Regions from separate parts of the Homo sapiens genome. Here regions 2, 3, 4, 5, 6 and 7 are each linked to region 1. Evidence: promoter capture Hi-C in 16 types of primary human blood cells and fetal thymus (Javierre and others, 2016). All regions are on one chromosome and are shown on one strand. The core of a region is centred on a gene start or on the middle of the fragment in contact, and the rest is flanking DNA. Distances in the headings are between cores, read along the strand shown.

Evidence for each region. The method cuts DNA at HindIII sites, captures the fragments that hold promoters and counts their contacts. A CHiCAGO score of 5 or more calls a contact.
Region 2: a contact is called between the fragment with the promoter of ZNF497 here and the fragment with the promoter of ZNF749 in region 1, in 6 of 17 cell types (non-activated CD4 T cells, neutrophils, naive CD8 T cells and 3 more). The highest score is 8.7, in non-activated CD4 T cells.
Region 3: the fragment with the promoter of ZNF835 here is called in contact with the fragment with the promoter of ZNF749 in region 1 in 2 of 17 cell types (naive CD4 T cells and total B cells); the score reaches 5.7 in naive CD4 T cells.
Region 4: the fragment with the promoter of ZSCAN22 here is called in contact with the fragment with the promoter of ZNF749 in region 1 in 4 of 17 cell types (neutrophils, non-activated CD4 T cells, total CD8 T cells and 1 more); the score reaches 7.6 in neutrophils.
Region 5: the fragment with the promoter of ZNF544 here is called in contact with the fragment with the promoter of ZNF749 in region 1 in 6 of 17 cell types (total CD8 T cells, total CD4 T cells, naive CD8 T cells and 3 more); the score reaches 8.9 in total CD8 T cells.
Region 6: a contact is called between the fragment with the promoter of ZNF8 here and the fragment with the promoter of ZNF749 in region 1, in 3 of 17 cell types (neutrophils, non-activated CD4 T cells and total B cells). The highest score is 7.8, in neutrophils.
Region 7: a contact is called between a fragment that was not itself captured here and the fragment with the promoter of ZNF749 in region 1, in 1 of 17 cell types (non-activated CD4 T cells). The highest score is 5.1, in non-activated CD4 T cells.

Annotation. Positions count from the first base shown.
Region 1 is chr19:57,433,928-57,436,627 of GRCh38, reverse strand. It overlaps ZNF749 (zinc finger protein 749), which reads right to left and starts at 1,303. Exons shown (of 3, transcript NM_001023561.4): 1 at 1,035-1,303. The coding sequence starts at 1,049. RefSeq lists enhancers at 739-788, 1,419-1,718. The HindIII fragment of the contact is 4,352 bases long and covers 1-2,700 here.
Region 2 is chr19:58,361,352-58,364,130 of GRCh38, reverse strand. ZNF497 (zinc finger protein 497) reads left to right here and starts at 1,380. Exons shown (of 3, transcript NM_198458.3): 1 at 1,380-1,454. It overlaps ZNF497-AS1 (ZNF497 antisense RNA 1), which reads right to left and starts at 1,505. Exons shown (of 3, transcript NR_136527.1): 1 at 1,379-1,505. It also overlaps the pseudogene RNA5SP473. RefSeq lists enhancers at 1,686-1,815, 1,545-2,093. The HindIII fragment of the contact is 6,825 bases long and covers 1-2,779 here.
Region 3 is chr19:56,670,327-56,673,026 of GRCh38, reverse strand. It overlaps ZNF835 (zinc finger protein 835), which reads left to right and starts at 1,270. Exons shown (of 2, transcript NM_001005850.3): 1 at 1,270-1,451. It overlaps LOC105372473 (a long non-coding RNA gene), which reads right to left and starts at 1,048. Exons shown (of 4, transcript XR_936110.4): 1 at 596-1,048. The HindIII fragment of the contact is 4,177 bases long and covers 1,176-2,700 here.
Region 4 is chr19:58,325,586-58,328,305 of GRCh38, reverse strand. It overlaps ZSCAN22 (zinc finger and SCAN domain containing 22), which reads right to left and starts at 1,312. Exons shown (of 3, transcript NM_181846.3): 1 at 1,192-1,312. It overlaps LOC105372480 (a long non-coding RNA gene), which reads left to right and starts at 1,058. Exons shown (of 3, transcript NR_144444.1): 1 at 1,058-1,483. RefSeq lists enhancers at 1,012-1,341, 685-1,427. The HindIII fragment of the contact is 13,061 bases long and covers 1-2,720 here.
Region 5 is chr19:58,227,536-58,230,260 of GRCh38, reverse strand. It overlaps ZNF544 (zinc finger protein 544), which reads right to left and starts at 1,347. Exons shown (of 7, transcript NM_014480.4): 1 at 1,315-1,347; 2 at 691-793. RefSeq lists an enhancer at 645-1,471. The HindIII fragment of the contact is 1,767 bases long and covers 683-2,449 here.
Region 6 is chr19:58,277,544-58,280,243 of GRCh38, reverse strand. ZNF8 (zinc finger protein 8) reads right to left here and starts at 1,289. Exons shown (of 4, transcript NM_021089.3): 1 at 1,097-1,289. The coding sequence starts at 1,162. It overlaps ZNF8-DT (ZNF8 divergent transcript), which reads left to right and starts at 1,502. Exons shown (of 3, transcript NR_187495.1): 1 at 1,502-1,721. ZNF8-ERVK3-1 (ZNF8-ERVK3-1 readthrough (NMD candidate)) reads right to left here and starts at 1,278. Exons shown (of 7, transcript NR_144447.1): 1 at 1-1,278. RefSeq lists enhancers at 694-743, 1,164-1,213. The HindIII fragment of the contact is 22,069 bases long and covers 1-2,700 here.
Region 7 is chr19:58,300,428-58,303,127 of GRCh38, reverse strand. It overlaps ZNF8 (zinc finger protein 8), which reads right to left. Exons shown (of 4, transcript NM_021089.3): 4 at 337-2,700. All of the region lies in intron 4 of ZNF8-ERVK3-1 (ZNF8-ERVK3-1 readthrough (NMD candidate)), which reads right to left. Among named protein-coding and RNA genes, the nearest start is that of ERVK3-1, 3.6 kb to the left of the region's middle. The HindIII fragment of the contact is 9,060 bases long and covers 1-2,700 here.

The sequences.
Region 1 (2,700 bases), core at 54-2,553:
CTAAAGAGTGGCCCTCAGGGCCAGCTGAGTTAGAAGGGTGGAGTGACTACAATTATCTCATGCCTCAGTCTCTGTATTCCAGGGCAACTCCTTATCCATCCAGGCCTCTTTTTCAACAGAAACAGACCAGACTCTTAGCCCATATCTGCTCCCTTCTGCAGGGAGTATCAGAGATGCCCTCCCTACCATGGTCTTTCCTCCAAATCTGAGCCCTCCCCTACCTCAGCCCATATGAAAAAACGATGTAGGATTCTTCCTTCTCAATCTGATCCACAGGCCAACTTCTCAAGTGCACAACTTCTAACTCATTTAAAGCTCCAGGCCAGCTACCTTCCCTCACCTTTGGAAATTACGTCCACCTACCCATGTGATGTCGCCCAAAATCCAACCCAGGATCTTCTGTCTGAAACCCGCTCCTTAAGCTGATATCTCTAATTCCATTCTTTCAGATTTTTCAGGCCAAAACAAAACCTATGGAAGACACCATTCACTACCGACTTTCCCTCACAGCTATGTTTGATGCAGCAGGAAATCCTGTTGACCCTATCTCTGAGATCCATCCAGAGTCTCATCACATCTCCCCTCTACTGCAACCCCTCTGGCCCAGCCCTACCATAACTCAAGGGGTCTCCTCAGCGGTCCCCCTGCCCCCGTTCAACATCCTGTTTTCCCCAACTTTAAACTTCTAACTCTGGGCGTGACCCTCCCATTCGTCCTCCCTGCACAGCCCTCTATGGCTCTCTGCGGCTCCACTGCCCTTCCAGGGGAGACTCCGCCTCAACCTCTGCTCCTTGGAGACAAAGACGCTCGGGCTCCCCAGTGCCGCCCGTTCTGCAGTGCCTCCAAGCCCCAGAGACGTGTCGGTCTCCGACGGGAGCTCCCCCGCCTCATCGCACCGCAGTCCCAGTCCCGGGCACCCCACACAAGAACGCCCCTCTCTTAGAGACACAAGGGCCTAACCTGCAGGGCGGCTCCTTGGGACTTCAGCACTGGGAGGAGGGGTTGGGCGGGGCGGCCTGGGACGCTGCACGCACCTCGGTCAGGTTCATCGGCGCGGCCTCCTCCAGTCCACCCAGGGAAGAGCGGGGCGGGAACGGCGGTCACCTGGACGCTGACGGAGGCAGGGGCGCCTGCAGCCGACTCAGCCGATCCGCACTCTAGCCTCTGTGTAGAAGGAACACCGCTTCTCGCGTTTTTCCGCTCTTTCACCTCAGTCCCGACCCAGAGCTCTGGGACCCTCTAAATCAGTGAACAGATCCCTAGGTAGCCATGCTAACGCAACCATGAGGGCGCCGCCAGAAGTCCCGCCCACACAATTGAGACCTCATTAGTCGTCTCTCTGCTAGACCAATGGCTACACTCGCTGCCCTGCCCCCGCAGTGTCTTCTGGGTAATGTAGTTCTCACGTTGCTGCCTGTGTCGCCCGCAGTGTCTTCTGGGTAATGTAGTTCCCACGCTGCTGCCTGCCTCGCCTCACAATGCTGGGCGCGCGGACCTTACGGAAAAAAGCTGGAGGCTCCTGGAGGAGCGTTAAGAAATGCAGTTCCGGGGCTCTTAAGGACGTGGAGGGGCTTTGCTGACTCCTAAACTGCAAGTAACCAGATTTTCCCGGAGAGCAGTCTAGGACAAGTCTGAGAAATATTTCAGAGACCTGTCGTTTCAGATTCTCTGAAGCACAGCAAGTCCCGAAAGGAAGAACATCAGAAGCGACATGGCTGACCATAATGAACTGGTCCTCCATTCATAGCGGTCAGCTCTTTTGTGCTTGTCAAGTACACACATACTGAGGCTCTGGAGACTTTTTTTTGATCGTTAGTGTGCTTCTGTTGGGACAAGAAAGAAAAGACCCACACAGGATGTGATGGAGAGTTGAAGGAGGAATATCTTTCTGTCGACGAAAAGGGTGGAACTTTGTGAAATAGTTGAAGAGATTTATTCTGAGACAAATATGAGTGACTAATGGCCCATGACACGGCTCCAAGATATCCTAAGAACATATGCCCAGGGTGGCCCATCTACAGCTTGGTTTTAACAATTTAGGAAGACGTAAGACATCAATCAATACATGTAAAATGTACATTGGATTCCTCTGGAAAGGCGCAACTGGAAGGGAGGGGCGGGGCTTCCAGGTCAGGTGGGTTCAAAGATTTTCCGATTGGCAATTGGTTGAAAGAGTTTGTATCTAAAGACCTGGAATCAGTAGAAATGGTTGTCTGGGTTAAGGGGTTGTGGGCCGGGCGTGGTATCTCACGCCTGTAATCCCAGCACTTTGGGAGGCCGAGGTGGGCGGATCACCTGAGGTTGGGAGTTCGAGACCAGCCTGACCAACATGTAGAAACCCCATCTCTACTAAAAATACAAAATTAGACGGGCATGGTGGCACATGCCTGTAATGCCAGCTACTCGGGAGGCTGAGGCAGGAGAATCGCTTGAACCCGGGAGGCGGAGGTTACGGTGAGCCGAGATCTCGCCATTGTACTCCAGCCCGTGCAACAAGAGCGAAACTCCGTCTCAAAAACAAAAAAAGACAAGGGGTTGTGAAGACCAAGGTTATATCATGCAGATGAAGCCTCCAGGTAGTCTTATAAGGCCTTATGATAAGGCCTCAGCTCCTGAGCTAAAGCTATCTTCCCACCTCAGCCTCTAGAGCAGCTGGGACTGTAGGTACAGGACACCGTCCCTGGCTTTATTCAGCTTTTT
Region 2 (2,779 bases), core at 131-2,630, 930 kb before region 1:
TGGACCTGGGCCATGTACCCACACCTGCCCAAACCACCTGGGCTGAGGTGAGAGCTCCCTAGTACAAATTGGGAAAAATTGGTACAAAAAGAGCTCGTGGAGGCCGGGTGCAGTGGCTCGGGTCTGTAATCCTAGCACTTTGGGAGGCCAAGGTGGGAGGATCACTTGAGCCCAGAAGTTCAAGACCAGCCTGGGCCATATAGCGAGACCCCGTCTCTAGCTATTCATTTATTTTAGCTTACAGCATCTGGTCTATGTTGTTTTTTGAGACGGAGTCTTGCTCTGTCACCCAGGCTGGAGTGTGCAGTGGCACGACCTCAGCTCACTGTAACTTCTGCCTCCCCGGTTCAAGCGATTCTCCTGCCTCAGCCTCCCGAGTAGCTGGGATTATAGGCACACGCCAACAAGCCTAATTTTTGTATTTTCAGTAGAGACGGGGTTTCACCATGTTGGTCAGGCTGGTCTCGAACTCCTGACCTCGTGATCTGCCCGCCTCGGCCTCCCAAAGTTCTGGGATTACAGGCGTGAGCCACCGCGCCCGGTTTATTTATTTATTTTAGCCAACAGCACTCGGTGTTCCCAGACGGTCTCCCAAGTACTAACCAGGCCCGACCCTGCTTAGCTTCTGAGATCCCGACTCAATTTTTTTTTTTTTTTTTTGAGACGGAGTCTCGTTCTGTCGCCCCAGGCTGGAGTGCAGTGTCGCGATCTCGGCTCACTGCAAGCTCCGCCTCCCAGGTTCAAGCGATTCTCCTGCCTCAGCCTCCCGAGTAGCTGGGACTACAGGCGCCCGCCACCACGCCCGGCTAATTTTTTGTATTTTTAGTAGAGACGGGGTTTCTCCGTGTTAGCCAGGATGGTCTCGATCTCCTGACCTCGTGATCCGCCCGCCTCGACCTCCCAAAGTGCTGGGATTACAGGCGTGAGTCACCGCGCCCGGCCCCCGACTCTATTTTAAAAACCGCGTGGATTCCAGCTTGGTGGGTGTTCCACAGCGCGTGGGTGTGAGACGCAGCTCAGTGGCGTCAACTCAGCAAGGTTCCAGGGTGGTAAAGACGGCCTGGGGCCGGAGGAGGACCGCCAGGGAGAAGCTACGTTGGCCCGACTTGCGTCCGCGACCCGGGCAGCCCCAGGCGCCTGTGTAGCTGTTGGGTGTGTGCCGCAGAGGCTGGCCGGGTGCAGGAAGGGGCGGAGCGCATCCATGGCAACGCAGGACGCCCGAGTAGCTTGGCTGTGGCGCCGTCCCCATGGGAACCAGAAGGCGCGCGCCCGCAGCCGCGGCATAGTTACGCAGGCGCAGTGGGGAGAAACGCGACGCCTTGGGCCGCTCTGCCGAATGCAACCGCGCCCCCAGGAGACCCGGTGCCCGCCCTCCTACCATTCCACGCGGCTCGAGCCCGCGTGCGGGCCTCTTTCAGGCCGCTCCTAGTGGACGCAGAGGCGGGCCGAGGACGGTGAGTGACGCCGACGGACACCCTCGGCCAGGCACAGATCCGCCCTCCGGCTCCAACCACTCCCGCCGCGCGGGGCAGGACGGGCCTCGGCCCTGAGCTGGGCCCTCTGGGACCACCGAGAGATAGGCCTCCGCGCCGTCCAGAGCGGCCCGGAAGTGGCCCTGCACGGGCCAGAGGCGACCGTGGTCGGGACGGAAATGGCTCCCGTTTGCTGTTCTCTCGGTGAACGCGAGCCTTATGGCGATCAGTTCTGTGGCATCGTTCCTCCTGCTCGTTTATTCTTTCACTCATTCACTCATGCCCTGCCGCGCCATCATTTCTTCCCACATTCATTTATTCGTTCATCAGTCCCCAGCCCCGGGTAGTTTCGGAGCTCACCAGGCTGGGCTCGCCTCCCAGCCTCCGGAGCTGCCCGCACAGGCCTCGCGCCACCTGGCCGCAGCTTCCTCCCCTTTATCCACTCCGTATTTGTTTGTCCAGCCTAGGCCTTGGGGGTTGTGGGGGAGACACAAGTACCCGTGACTGGTCGGACAAGTGCCCGTTGTTGGGGGCGTGGGCGCTGGGACTGACGCGGGAGGTGGCTCTGATCATGTCGAGGTGAGGAGGAGGCGTTGAGGCTCAGAAAGGGCACGCAGCGTGGACGTGAGGACGTCGGGGAGGCTGGAGCAGTGAGGCCGACAGGAAGGACCTTACGGGGCTCACATGCTATCCCACGACGAGGACGGACTCAGGACGGCAGCCCTGATAGATGCGGCTGGGGGCTGGCGGGTCGGGGTCGCACACCACAGGATGGAGGGGCAGCGGTGCCTGGCTCCGCCTTAAGAAACATGGGCCCTTGGGGGACCCGGATTTCTGATACTTCAATACACAAATATGGATTTTTATTGAAATCAGATGTCGTTTTTTTAAAATTTAACTTTTGATTTGAGGTAATTATAAATTCACATGCAGTAACAAGTAATGCATACCCTATGTACGCTTTACCCAATTCCCCTAAAGGTGGCATCTTGAAAAACTAGAGGCCAGGTGCGGTGGCTCATGTCTGTAATCCCAGCACTTTGGGAGGCCAAGGCGGGTGGATCCCTTGAGCTCAGGAGTTAAAGACCAGCCTGAGCAACATGGTGAAACCCCATCTGTACTGAAAACACAAAAATTAGGCGGGTGTGGAGGCTGGTGCCTGTAATCCCAGCTACTCGGGAGTCTCAGGCAGGAGAATCGCTTGTACCCAGGAGGCGGAGGTCGCGGTGAGCCCACATCACGCCACTGCACTCCAACCTGGGCAACAGAGCGAGACTCTGTCTCAAAAAAAGAGAAGAGAAAGAAAA
Region 3 (2,700 bases), core at 21-2,520, 760 kb after region 1:
TTTTTTCAGGAAAAACAAACTTTAAAAAAAAAAGAGGAGAAATAAAACCTTTTCTCCCCTTTCCCCATCCTCTATCTATCCCTGTTTCCCAGGAACAAATCAAAAGGTGGATTATCTTCTGAAGAATGGAAACTGTTAGTCCAGAATGATGTCTTTTTCTCAATGCAGTGAGTTATAGATTCTCTAGTTTTCTCCCTAGGGATGGGAAGGGGGCATTGACGCAAGCCTGGAGAGGAGCCCGGGGAGCAGGGTCATGAAGTTTTTTCTTCAGTGAAGGAGGAATACAATCAAGGGTTTTGTATTCAGAATGTTGTGCAATATTTTGGAATAGGACATTGGTGTGTTTAGAGATTTTAGTTTAAAAACAAAACAAAAAGATTGATCAAATCTGTACAGTTTCTATTGTTCCAGATTTTTTAAAGTTTGTATTAAAAGCATGATACATAATAAAAATAAATAAATAAATAAAACTAAAAAGTAAAATGAAATTCTTCATCTATGTTAATGGATTTGCCACCTTCTTTGCCATAGACTGGAATGACATCAGCTACCTGAGACCAAAATAAAAGTGTGGGTTGCAAACCCTGGCACCTACCTTTTTAGATTCCGCAGCCTGCAGTAGGGACTTAGCCTGTCTGAACCTCAGCTTCCTTCTTTCTTCTTCTTTTTTTTTGAGACGAAGTCTCGCTCTGTCACCCAGGCTGGAGTGCAGTGGTGCGATCTCAGCTCACTGCAACCCTCGCCTCCCAGGTTCAAGCCATTCTCCCGCCTCAGCCTTCCAAGTAGCTGGAAGTGCATGCCACCATGCTCGGCTAATTTTTGTATTTTTAGTAGAGACGGGGGTTTCGCCATATTGGCCAGGCTGGTCTCGAACTCCTGACCTCAGGTGATCCACCCGCCTCGGCCTCCCTAAGCGCTGGGATGACAGGTGCCCGGACTCAAGTTCCTTCTTTCTAAGCCTGTGGGCTCGGCCTCATCCCCTGAGCAAGAAAAAAGTCCCACCCCTGAGTTACTGGAAGCGCCCACCGCCATGCACTGAGGCTGTAGTGGGCGGGGCTCGGGGCAGCAGCCCGGCGCTCCTCGGGCCCCCAGGGGTCAGCGCCCTGCGGACCTAGCGTGTGCAGACGCTTAGCCTTCTGGGAGTTGTAGTTTCGATGACCCAGGCTTTGCAAGCTTTAGTCGCGGTGCCGGCGAGCGCGCAGCGCCCCCTGGGAGTCGTAGTTCCTAAGAACCAGGCGGGCCCGATGCGCAGGCGCAGTCCACCCCGGCCTGGTGCGCGGGCTCCTCCGCAGCAGCAGAAGTCTTGACCTTAGCTCGTCTAAGGAAGGAGGCACCAGGGTCTGCGTTGGCCCAGGAGGACCCGAGACTGAGTAGAAGCGGAGCCGACTGCACCAGGCTAGGAGGGGGCCGGCCAGCGCGTTCGAAGGTGATACCGGGAGGCGAGAGCAACGGTGTGTAGTGTGCGCGTGTTCCTGCAGGTGTGTGACCGCGTGTGAGCCCGTCCCCGAGTGCCATTGTGTCTGCACCTGTTCACTTAGCGGTGTCAGCCCGTATAGGTGTGTGACTGCCTGTGAGCCCGTCCCTGAGTAACACAGCGTCTGCACCTGGTCACTCGACGGTACCAGCAGGTGCAGGTGTGTGACTGCCTGTGAGCCTGTCACTGCATCTGCACCTGCTTACTCGGCGGTGCCAGCCCGTCACTGTGTCTGTACCTGCTCACTTGGCGGTGCCAGGCCGTGCAGGTGTGTGACTGGCTGTGAGCCTGTCCCTGAGTGTCACAGCGTCTGCACCTGCTCACTCGACGGTACCAGCAGGTGCAGGTGTGTGACTGCCTGTGAGCCCGTCCCTGAGTGTCACAGCGTCTGCCCCTGCTCACTTGGCGGTGCCAGCCCATCACTGTGTCTGTACCTGCTCACTCGGCGGTGCCAGGCCTTGCAGGTGTGTGACTGCCTGTGAGCCCGTCCCCGAGTGTCACTGTGTCTGCACCTGCTCACTCAGTGGTGCCAGCCCAGGCAGGTGACTGCAGGTAAAGGCATGTAACACTTTATCGGTGTGTTATGTGCTCGTTCATGTGAAGCGGTGTCTGCATATCACAGCATGTCACATACACGTGTGGCTGCCTTTGGGCAAGTCTGAAAGTTCTCCTGGATGTGAGGTGTGTGACCCCACGTGTGCATGTCTGGGTGTGCCGCCGTGTAGGCTGGCTCGGCCCGTGTGCCTGCCAGCACAATGATGGGTGACCTGGCTGTGCGAGCCTGTAGAGTGCCGTGCTGTCTGAAGTGTGTGCATCTGCACATGATGGAGACGCTGCACATGTGGGCTTTGGCTATGCTGGAGCTCTATCCACCGAGTGTGACTGCACATGTGTCCAGCCATCCCCTGTGGGTGTGTCCCAGTAATGGCCGGCCTGTGTGGAGCAGGTGGCATGTGTGACCTTGTGCGTCTCTGTGCACCTCTTCACACAGGGAGCTACGTGTGGGGCTGGGTGTGTGTGTAGCTACGTGTGCCCGGGACCCTGTGTGCATGTGTGAGTGTGGCTGCAGGTGATGGCTTCCCACCTGCCTCCTTGCATGGGGGTTAGGAGGGCGACTGTGTGTCCCTGGATATGGGTTTGGGTGTCTCTGCATGTCTGTGTGTGTCTGGGCAGGTATGATTGTGTATGACCCTGTGTGTGTCAGAGTGTGATGTAATGCATGTGTC
Region 4 (2,720 bases), core at 63-2,562, 890 kb before region 1:
ATCACCCAAGTTTTAGTCTCCCTGATAAAAATCTCAGTCAATCAGATATTAACACATATTATCTCAGGTACAGTCTGTCAGCCACAGCCTTCAAAATACCCAGACACAGGAAATATCTCAATGTCACCTATAATCAGTCAAATAAACACAGGCCTGGCCAGGCATGGTGGCTCATGCCTATAATCCCAGCACTTTGGGAGGCCTAGGCAGGTGGATCACCTGAGGTCAGGAGTTCCGGGCCAGCCTAACCAACATGGTGAAAGCCCGTCTCTACCAAAAATACAAAAATTAGCCAAGTGTGGTGGCCGGTGCCTGTAATCCCAGCTACTCGGGAGGCTGACGCAGGATAATCGCTTGAACCCGGGAGATGGAGGTTGCAGTGAGCCGAGATTGCGCCACTGCACTCCAGCCTGGGCAACAGAGCAAGACTCCGTCTCAAAAATAAACACAGGCCCTCGCAGCATTTCCATCACACAGTATTATTCTGATCACAGTCATTCATAATCTTAGTCACCATCTCAAGGACACACAAAGAAAATCAGTCACACTTGAAATCCCACCGTCACACGCTCACCCTCTCACAGTATCTCACAACCCACGTAGGAAGTCTCAAACGGCAACCATCTCTGTCAGTCACACACTCCATGGTTAGTGTTACACTCAACCTATCAGAATCACACACTCCAACCCGTCAGATACACACACCCAAGAGGTGTCAGACACAGAACCGCCTATCAGACACATAAACGGGTCCGCCCCACACCCTCCCAGGCCACTGGTCCTACATTTTATCTGTTATCTGTCCGCCCGCTCCACACTTCGTCCGCCCCACACCCGGTCAATCAGTCCATCCGACACACACTCCGTCAGTCCGACACATTCTCCGTCGGTCCGTCCGGCACTCAGTGTGTCATTCCGCACCACATTCGGTCCGTGAGTCTGTCCACACCGGGTCCGTCAGTCCGTGCACACACGGTCCGTCCACGCCTGGTCCGTCAGTCCGTCACATCCTCTGCGCGTGTGTCCGGCACTCGCAGTCCGTCTACTCACGTCCCCTAGTCAGCCTCTCACTCTCTACCCGCTGGGCGGTACCCCGCATCTCGCTCTGGCCGCCCCAGAGGTTCGCGGCTTCTGGACCTGCTGTGCCCCTCTCCAGCCTGGATCAGGACGGAGAACACCCCCGAAACCCACCTCACCAGCACAGCCGGCGGACCCTTCCGGAGGTGGCCGCAGAGACTAGCCAACTTGCGCGCCCGCCGACCCGGACCACAGCTCCCAGCACACCTCAAGGGCCCACGCCCGCCAGGACTACAATTCCCGGCGTCCTCCGGAAGCTCAAGTGTACCCAGGCGCGGTGCCTGCTGGGAATTGTAGTTGACGTTGGTCAGCACGGAGGCCACAGGATCCCAGCCCGGCCTTTGTGGGACTGAGGTGGCGCTGAGTGGGAGAGCAGCAGGCGATGCGCGAAAGGCGGGACTTGGAGGTGAGGGAAATGTGAAGGCTGAGGGTGAGAGTGCCTGTGTGAGGCTGAGGGTGCCTGTGTGAGGGTGAGGGTGAGGGCGGCTGTGTGAGGGCTGAGGGCTGAGGGTGCCTGTGTGAGAGCTGAGGGTGCCTGTGTGAGGCTGAGGGTGCCTGTGTGAGGCTGAGGGTGAGGGCGGCTGTGTGAGGGCTGAGGGTGCCTGTGTGAGAGCTGAGGGTGCCTGTGTGAGGCTGAGGGTGAGGGCGGCTGTGTGAGGCTGAGGGTGGCTTTGGGAGGGCTGAGGGTGTTTGTGTGAGGGGTGAGGGGTAAGGGTGAGGCAAGAAAATCGGGTCTGGAGGCAGGGAACCTAAGGACTTCCTAGAAGTAAATCAAATGGAAACTGCAGCTATGGTAGGAAATATCCTCTCCATTTATGCAGGGCGTACATGGAGTAAATCACTTTGTAACTTTACTTCGTCCTCTTCATTTACATAGGGCATATACCAAGTAACCAATGGAAACCTCTAGAGGGTATTTAAACCCCAGAAAATTCTGTAACCGGGCTCTTGAGCCCCTATGCTCCGGCCTGCTCCCATACAGTGGAGTGTACTTTCATTTTCAATACATCTCTGCTTTTGTTGCTTCATTCTTTTCTTTGTGCATTTTGTCCAATTATTTGTTCAAGATGCCAAGAACCTGGACACCCTCCACCAGTAACAAGGGTACCTGGGTGAGAGGTGAGGGTGCCCATGTTAGGAGTGAGGGGAGAGGGTGCCTGTCTGAGGGCTTGTGGGTGTGAGTGTCTGTGTAAGTACTGAAGGTGCCTTTGTGAGAGGTGAGCGGTGTGGTTGCCTATGTCAGGGTGTGTATTGAGTGTAGCTATGTGTGGCTCTCTGTGAACACATGTAATCATTTTTATAAATGTGTATCATTTTTTACTGAATTTGAGCTGGGCGTCTGTCTGCATGAGTCACTCTGTGACCAGGTTTGTGGGTTGTTCTGTGTGCTTACTCTGCGTGTGTGTGACCTGTGATTTAATCATCATATGTGATAATCATGCAGCTGTGTTTGCCTGCACCAGGTGTAATTGTGTCTGAGACAGATACTTAGAGGTAATGGGGTGGACCTGACACAGTATAAAGGCCCTAGACTGTGTGTGATGTTGTTACGGTGACTGTGAATGGTAGTGTGATTGTGTGATTCAGTCGATGCCTGGACTGTGTGTGAGAATGTATCTTCTCTGTGTGTGTGTGTATGTGTA
Region 5 (2,725 bases), core at 98-2,597, 790 kb before region 1:
AAATTCCCCATCTGTTCCTCATACTGGACCTGTATGGTGGCTGATCTGGCAGAAGTCCCTCTGGCTGCAGGGCTGGGGAGGGAGTTGCTTTCTCTTTCCTTTTCCAGTTTTCTCCTTCCCTGCTTGTGGGGTGACGTTTCCAATCTGCTCCAGGTTACGTGTCCAGCCCAAACCTCCTGGGCTTCCTGCCACTGCCATTCCCTCCTCCACATTCAGCCATGTCACCCACATGCTCCTCAACTCCCATGCAGAGACTGACCAGGCATACCACATCTTCCTTGCACTGTGACTTCTACCCTGGCTCCACGCTGGAAACAGAAACACAGTCTTCCTCCACTCCTTCCTGTCTTTTGGCATCCCTCCTTACACGGAGTCATTTCCACAATCAGATGTTTCCCTACTCCCTTAGACTCTTGAAATCCAACCCCATGCCTTCCTCATTAGCACTGCCTTGTACGGTCCCCATCAAATATCACCCAACACAAATGGAACCCCGATCCCTAACTTACAGGCGTTACATACACATCCCATCCTGTTCACCTCTGTAGTCTCTCTATGGGGTGCACCAGCATCGCTTAACCAGTGCAGGCCCCCAACACCCCAGTTACCCCTGCCCTGCGTGGACTGGCCTTAATCTTCTGTTCACTTGGAAAATACACATGTTCTCTGCAAGGTTCAAGCTTCACGTACCATTGGAAGAAAATGTGTCCACGTCTGGAGCTGGGATGACCTCTGGGGTCCAATAGGCGTCACCTGCCTGGTGCCGCTGTGCCAGGAGGCTCTTGGCTGCCACCTGTGGATAAGCCGCAGAAGATGAGTTGAGGGAGGAAAAAGGAGCCGGGAGAGGCCCGCTGGGTCGGCAGCCCCAGAGCTCCAGACGCCAGCCTGAATCCCCCGCCCCTGCAGCCCTCGACCCAGGCACCCTCTGTCGGGAGGGCCCACCCAGTCCCACCCAGTCCCACCCAGTCCCACCCAGTCCCACCCAGTTCCACCCCTGCCCGTACCTGCGAGGTACTATAAGTTCCCTCCCAGCTCTGCAGCAGGAGAGCCTCCCGACAAGCTCAGACCCAGCCGGGCGCTCCTGCAGGGGAAACCTGACTGGACCGGCCTTCCCCGTCCCTGAGGCCGGAGAGATCCCGATCCCATCAGGCCCCTGCCCTTGCTCGGCCTCGCCGCATGAGGGACCCCCGCAGGCCCTGCTCGTTTCTCCGGCACGCCCAGATCACTTGGGGCGGCTCTGGCCTGGTCCTGCGCTCCGGCCGCACCCGGCTAACAGTGAAACCTCCGAGCCAACCTTGAGGCCGCCAGACTCACCTGCACGCACCGGCCAATGGCGGTGCTTCCGGTGGCCGGCGGACGTGCCCGCGCTCCGCGCAACAAACAACTCCCAGAAGGCCGCGCGCCGGTAGCCGTTGCTCCCACAGGCATAGTCATTGCCGGCGGGAGCATGGGGCCCCGCGGCGGCGGGATGAGCTTTTTCCTGTGTTCGCGACTAGCATTGTGGCTTAGGGAGTTGCTTCCCGCGGCTCTGCTCCTTGCAGCGCCTGTCCCCTCCCCCTTAAACGGGCCACGCTGGTTCTCATCCAGCAACCGAAGCCGAGACTGTGGAGGCGGCGGTCGGCGTCCAGGGCGGGACTAGCGCCTATGGGGCTCGGCGCTGTCATCTCGGGTGCCTTCCCGGCGCCTTGCCCTGCTGGGGAGAGAGACCAAGACTGAGCCATGAGAACAGTCCAAGGCCGTTAACCGGGAGCTCAGGGGCAAGGGCGCCCGCCAACATCTGCGCCTGTGGCAGGGACTCAGGGACAGCCTGGGCGTGGGGACGCGTCCTAGTGATAGAAACAAAGCCCCGGGAGTGCCCTGCTTGGAGCATTCCGAGTGGAAGGTGGAAGCACGCTAACTGGAGGCGATTCGTCCTAGGTGATCGCTCAGTCGAGCCTATTTGGCTTTCTGTGGTAGCTCCTAAGTGGGACAGGGAAAAAAATAGGGAGGCTGGCAGTGACCAAGTTCTGTTTTGTACCTATTGCTGCAGAAGTTGTGGGACAGAGTTCTGTTATTATAAATGGTCTGATGTTCAGTCTCAGTGCGTTGTGGGGCTCAATGTCTGAGACCCACCACCGCCTGACCCGTCCTGGCTCTTCAATGAGGGAGACCACAGGAAACTTTCCTACGAAGGCCAGGTAGGCGGGAACCACTGTGGCTCAGGCACCCTCAGCTCCTGGACTGTGCTTTTGTGTCTGGGGTGCATCTGTGACTAGCCTTCCTTGGCTTGACTGTTTTGTAGCTGACCTTGTCGATAGCTTTACCCAACAGTCATCATCTTTTTACTTGCTTATTTTCATACCTGGCTAGCACGACCCTGCAATTTTTAGATTCTTCCGGGAAATCTAGAATCTAACTCCCTAAGGGAGGATCTTGATGGATTCTAAGCTAATCAGAATGGACTCAAGCTTCTTGCTGTGTGAATTAGGCAAGGATATTCTGGCCAAGGAGAAATAAGGCTGCTAGGGGTTTCCTGGGAAGGTTCCCTCAGTCTTTTTTTTTTTTTTTTTTTTTTTTTTTTTTTGTGAGACGGAGTCTCGCTCTGTCCACCAGGCTGGAGTGCAGTGGTACGATCTAGGCCCACGGCACTCTCCGCCTTCCGGGTTCACGCCTTTCTCCTGCCTCAGCCTCCCGAGTAGCTGGGACTACAGGCGCCCGCCACCACGCCCGGCTAATTTTTTGTAAT
Region 6 (2,700 bases), core at 40-2,539, 840 kb before region 1:
AGGTGACAACAGCTATGCTGACATCTTCACTGTAACTTCATGGGCCTGAACCAGAACCACCAGCTAGGACATTCCATTACTCCTGTCAGAACTCGTGAGATATTTATTGTTGTTCCAGGTCACGAAGTTTTGAGTTACACAGCAACAGGTAACTAATACACTTTCTCTCAAGCCTTTCTTACGACTCATTCCTTGTCCCCCATCCACAGCAAGAACAAAATAAAACGTGGTAGCATTTCATGCAAATTTGGAGCAACACACATCTGAAAACCTGCAACCTAAGATTATCAAGTCTCACTTTGTGTACCAAATCTGAAATAATGCAAATCCCCATGAACAAACCAACGACAAAAAATAAAAAAAAGTATAATTTCAAAGTTGCAGAGCTTGAGGAAGGATAATTATTGTTGTTTCCTGCCACGCGAGGCAGCTTTATGGAGAACACAGGCCGCAACCACTTTGTCTAGAAAGTGGAGCTCTGATGGCCAGATGGCCCTGCAAACACTGACCGCCCTGCACTGCAGTTCTCCCACAGTCTCGCAGGGGACGACCCTGGTGGTCACTCTCATCACACTCAGTGCGTGGTGACCCATCATTGCCCCCAAGAGGTTGTGCCCAAGCCCCAGGGCAGGGGCTCCGCGGTGCTGGGGTCCCGGTGGGTGTCCGCTGACTCCACGCGTTAAAGCATCTCTATTCGATGATTCTTGCCATCTGGGCACCCGGCCAACGCTACAATTACTGTTATCAGTCAACACGAGGACAGACCTTCCTGGAATGGGCAAGGGTGTCGGCGGGGCGGAGCAGAACGCAGGAGATGGGCCTGCTCGATTCTCTCGGGAATGACCGACCCCAGCCCTGGGGAGGACAGAGCCGCGTGGAGCATGCGCATTCGGGGGCCAGGCGCCTGGTTGGAATCCCGGCCCCCTCTCTGACCAGCCAGGACGGTCACCACGCCCCGACCCGCGTCTGAGTTTCCCCACGTGTCAAGGGCATTAACAGCGGTGCCGCTCTCATCGCGCCGCGAGGTGAAAGGGTCAGTCTGCGCGGGAGACGCTTGCCCGGAGCCCGCCGCCGTCGTTATTGTTGTTATTGTTACCTGAAGCCGGGCCGCCGGCGGCCCCACAGACATCACTCCCGCTACCCCTTCGTCCTCGGGGTCCATGCTGGATCGCCCAGTGAAGGACAGCGCCTGAGGTGATCCCCAGACCAGAGAGGCACTCCAGCCAAAGGGACCACCCGACTCGCCGAACGCCGGACAATGGCGGCCGCACCGGCGACGCGGCGACTACAACTCCCAGTAGGCCGTGCGGCGAACCACAGCCCTCGGCCAATGGGAGTCTCCGCTGGTCTGGCCTTCGACCAATGGAAGCATTATGGCCGATGGCCAATGGGAGCCCCCACCCGCTGGCCTCTGGCCAATGGGAGCACTCAGCTAAGGCTGGTGGGGGCGGTGTTGCTCGGGGCTGCGATGCCCCTTAGGTTGCGGGCAACCAGAGGCCTCACTCGTGGGCAGGAAGCAAGGGCGGACCCCGAGAGATGACTGATTGTGGGGGTGGGGACCGTCTGCTCCTCCTAATGGCTGGGGACCGTGCACGTCTGCGCGGGCCGGACCTGCTCTTCTCGGGAACTTGCGCGGGAGGAGGCCCGGAGCTGCGCCGCTTTACCCTCTGCTCCCCGGTGCCTAAAACGCACACGCATCAAAGTCACAGGACGAGTTAGAGGTTTGTTCATATAAAAGACTTTGGGCTTAGCGGCTGGAAGCGGGGAGGCTGGGAGCGGTGGTTGTGTTACAGGAAAGGGGTCCGATTCAGACCCCAAGGGAGGGTTCTTGGATCTCGCGCAAGAAAAAATTCAGGGCGAGTCCGCAGTGCAAAGTAAAAGCAAGTTTGTTGAGAAAGTAAAGTTGTGAAACAGCTACCCCATAGACAGTAGGACGTTCCTGAAAGTAAGAGGAACGTATGCACCCTAGGTACAATGCTTGTGTATATTTGGGCTAAAAATAGATTTTGGGGAGATGTGCTCTGCTACAAGGGTTTGTGAAAAAGGATTAATTTTCTTACTGTATTTTTCAAGAATCGATATTATTTTTAAAGCAAAATTAGGAATGCCTTTGTTCTCTAGATACCGGGATATCTGGACACTCCCAAGTCTGGGTCTGTTTTAGTACCCATTATTAATTTGTTCCCTTAACCGTAAACATCTAGAGGTTAGGAATACCTACTTTTCTGGGAATGCAGCCCAGCCTCATTTTCCTAGCCCTCACTCAAAATGGAGTCGCTCTGGGTCGAATGCCTCTGACAGCCCTATTGCTTCTCCCTGTGGGTGTTCACTTTGTGATGTGTCTTTTTCTGTGGGTCTGTTGTAGTCCATTAAAATGTTTATTAAAGGTCGGGCGCGGTGGCTAACGCCTATAATCCCAGCACTTTGGGAAGTCGAGGCGGGTGGATCACGATGTCAGGAGCTCGAGACCAACCTGGCCAATATGGTGAAACCCCGTCTCTACTAAAAATACAAAAATTAGCCCGGCGTGGTGGCGGGCACCTGTAGTCCCAGCTTCTCGGGAGGCTGAGGCAGGAGAATCGCTTGAACCTGGGAGGCGGAGGTTGCCGTGAGCCGAGGTCAGGCCACTGCACTCCAGCCTGGGTGACAGAGCAAGACTCCGTCTCAAAAAAAAAATAAAAAGTTATTAAAAAAGAAAAA
Region 7 (2,700 bases), core at 44-2,543, 870 kb before region 1:
CTGTTTCTTCTTTACATAAATGGAAACATACTCTACAGTTTGACACCTTGCTTTTATCTACTTAACTATCTTAGAGCTCTTTCTCACATTAGTATAGTTTGAGGATCCCTAATTCAAAAATCTGAAATCTGAAACACTTCTGGTCCTGAGCATTTTGGATAAGGGATACTCAACCTGTATATAAAGAGTCTTCATTTTTAAGGCTATGATCTCCATTCCACCATAAATGACTTAGCCAGTTCCCCATGGTGGACATGGAGGGTTGTTTCCAAATTCTGACTTTTAAAATCAATAGCATAATGAAAACCATGTACAAACAGTCTGCACACATACAAATATATGTGTAGGATTTATTCCCAGCAAGTTTGCTTAGACAAAGGGTTTATGTATGTGTAATTTAGATAGTGGCTGATAAACTGCCCTCCACAGAAGTTGTATCAATTCACATTCCCACTGTAAATGTATAAGAACCCCTCCAATGCCCCCTTTGAGAAAACTCAAGGCTGGTAAAATACTGGGTGGAGAGCACATTGTTACAATCCTCCTGAAAGTTAATTTAAAGAGCTACATGAAATTCATAGAGAAAATCCTCAAAATAGAGTAAGCACATGTTACAAGACAACTAGAAGGGATTCCAAATTTCTAAACACAAGATAACTATACACATATATATTCCTCTGTGTGTATGTAAAATTTAGTGTACACTATGTATGTGTAGACACACGTGTATATTTTAAGAAAAAGCTGCAAGGAAAATTAGTAAAATCCTAATGGTAAGGACCATCTATGGATGGCTAAAGTATGAGGAATTTTACACAAGTTTTCATTTTTTTTTTACTTTTATGCATTTTCCAAGTTTTGCTACAAAGAACTCGCATTACTTTTATGAACAGAAAAAAACATGTCTTTTCCCTAGTTAACAGTAATTTCCACGGAGGAGTTTCTTATCTGTTTCAAAATATCTACAAGGAAATCAGTAGGAATATCATGCTTAGAAAATGTGAACTGAAATGAGAAACAGAAAATATGCAAAGATCTGAAACACTTCTGGTCCCAAGCATTTCGATAAGGAATATTCAAGCTGTATATAGAGTCTTCATTTTTAATGAATTTTTATGATCACCATTCCACCATAAATGACTTAGCCAGTTCCCCATGGTGGACATGGAGGTTCTTTCCAAATTTTTACTTTTAAAATCAATAGCATAATGAAAACCATGTAGCCTGCACACATATAAATATATATGTAGGATTCATTCCCAGCAGGTTTGGTGAGACAAAGGGTTTATGTATTTGTAATTTAGTGACTGATAAACTGCCCTTCATAGAAGATGTATAAGAACCTTCCCACACCCCCTTTGAGAACTCAAGGCTTGTTGAGTTCCAGTTGATTGCTTCATCCCAGCTTACCACCCTGTGGGGCTGCTATAACCTCAGCCAACCCCATGCCCCCTCAGAGAAGTATCAACTGTGACCCCTTCAGGACTGGCCATTTTGGGGGCCAAGGTGGAGGGAATGAGGCAATCACAGGCCTGACTTCCAGAGCTGTCTAGAACCATGCTGTCATTTTTGGTCCCACTGCTTCAGAGGGGAGGAGCTTTCCTGTCTGGATTCCCAAGCCTGTGCCCCAAACTGCTGGTGGAGCAGAAAGGAGGAATGATCCAGAATAGGGTTTTGGTACCAGACTGTTTGGTTCACACTCTGGCTGGGCCACTTGGTAGCACATTACTTCTCCTCTTAGGGCCATCCTGCACTGTTGGTGGCAGTGGGGATGAAGTAAGCAAATCCGAAATGTTTACATGGCAAAATCAACAGGACCTCTAACTCCATGGAGTGGGGAAGGGGAGAGGTCAAGAAGACTGGTTTTCTGGCTTCCATGATGGGATGGCAAGTGGAAACAGCCTCCAGGAAAGGGATCAGGGAAGCAGAGACTAGTCTGGGTGGAAAATGAGTTTTGTTTGGGGTAGGCTGGGTTTGGGGAGCTTTCGGCACACCTCGGGGAGTTGCCCAGTAGCACACAGCAGTTGTTTGGGTCTGAAGCCCAAATCTCAGAAGCACCAGACTGATTTGGTGGTGAGCAGCACAAAGCTAGGGATGTAGATGACACCTGGGGAGGGCGTGGAGCACAAGGTGGACTCTAGGACCCCAGCATTTAGGAAGGGTGACGGGAGGTTGAGAAGTCCCTGAAGAGTTAGAAGGAACCCCACAATGCAAGGAGATGGAGCTCTGCAAAGAGGTTAGCAGGCTTCACAGTCCTGGGGATGAAGAGAGACGACACCAGAGGTAGTACCTTGGACAGTGGTTGCAGTGGGTTCTGTGAAGCAGTGGGGGCGGACAGCAGGTCTGAGGTGTGAGCTGCCACCAAGGGAATAGGGAGCACAAGCGATTCTCCCAAGAGCTTGAAGGAGAAAAGCAGCAGATACGGCTAGCTGCCTCCATCATCCACCAAGGGAATAGGGAGCACAAGCAATTCTCCCAAGAGCTTGAAGAGAAAAGCAGCAGCTACGGCTAGCTGCCTCCATCATCCACTTCCCAGGACTTTTCTCTCCCACCTGTCTCCACCACAGAGGTTAGAAAGGTAAATACGAGGTTTCTAAGCCCCGTTGTTATTAGGGGTGGCCCCCTGACCCATCTGTGGCCAGTGAGACTAAGGGGGGCATGTGCTGCAGGCTTCTGGGAATGTTTTTCCTTTAAACACCA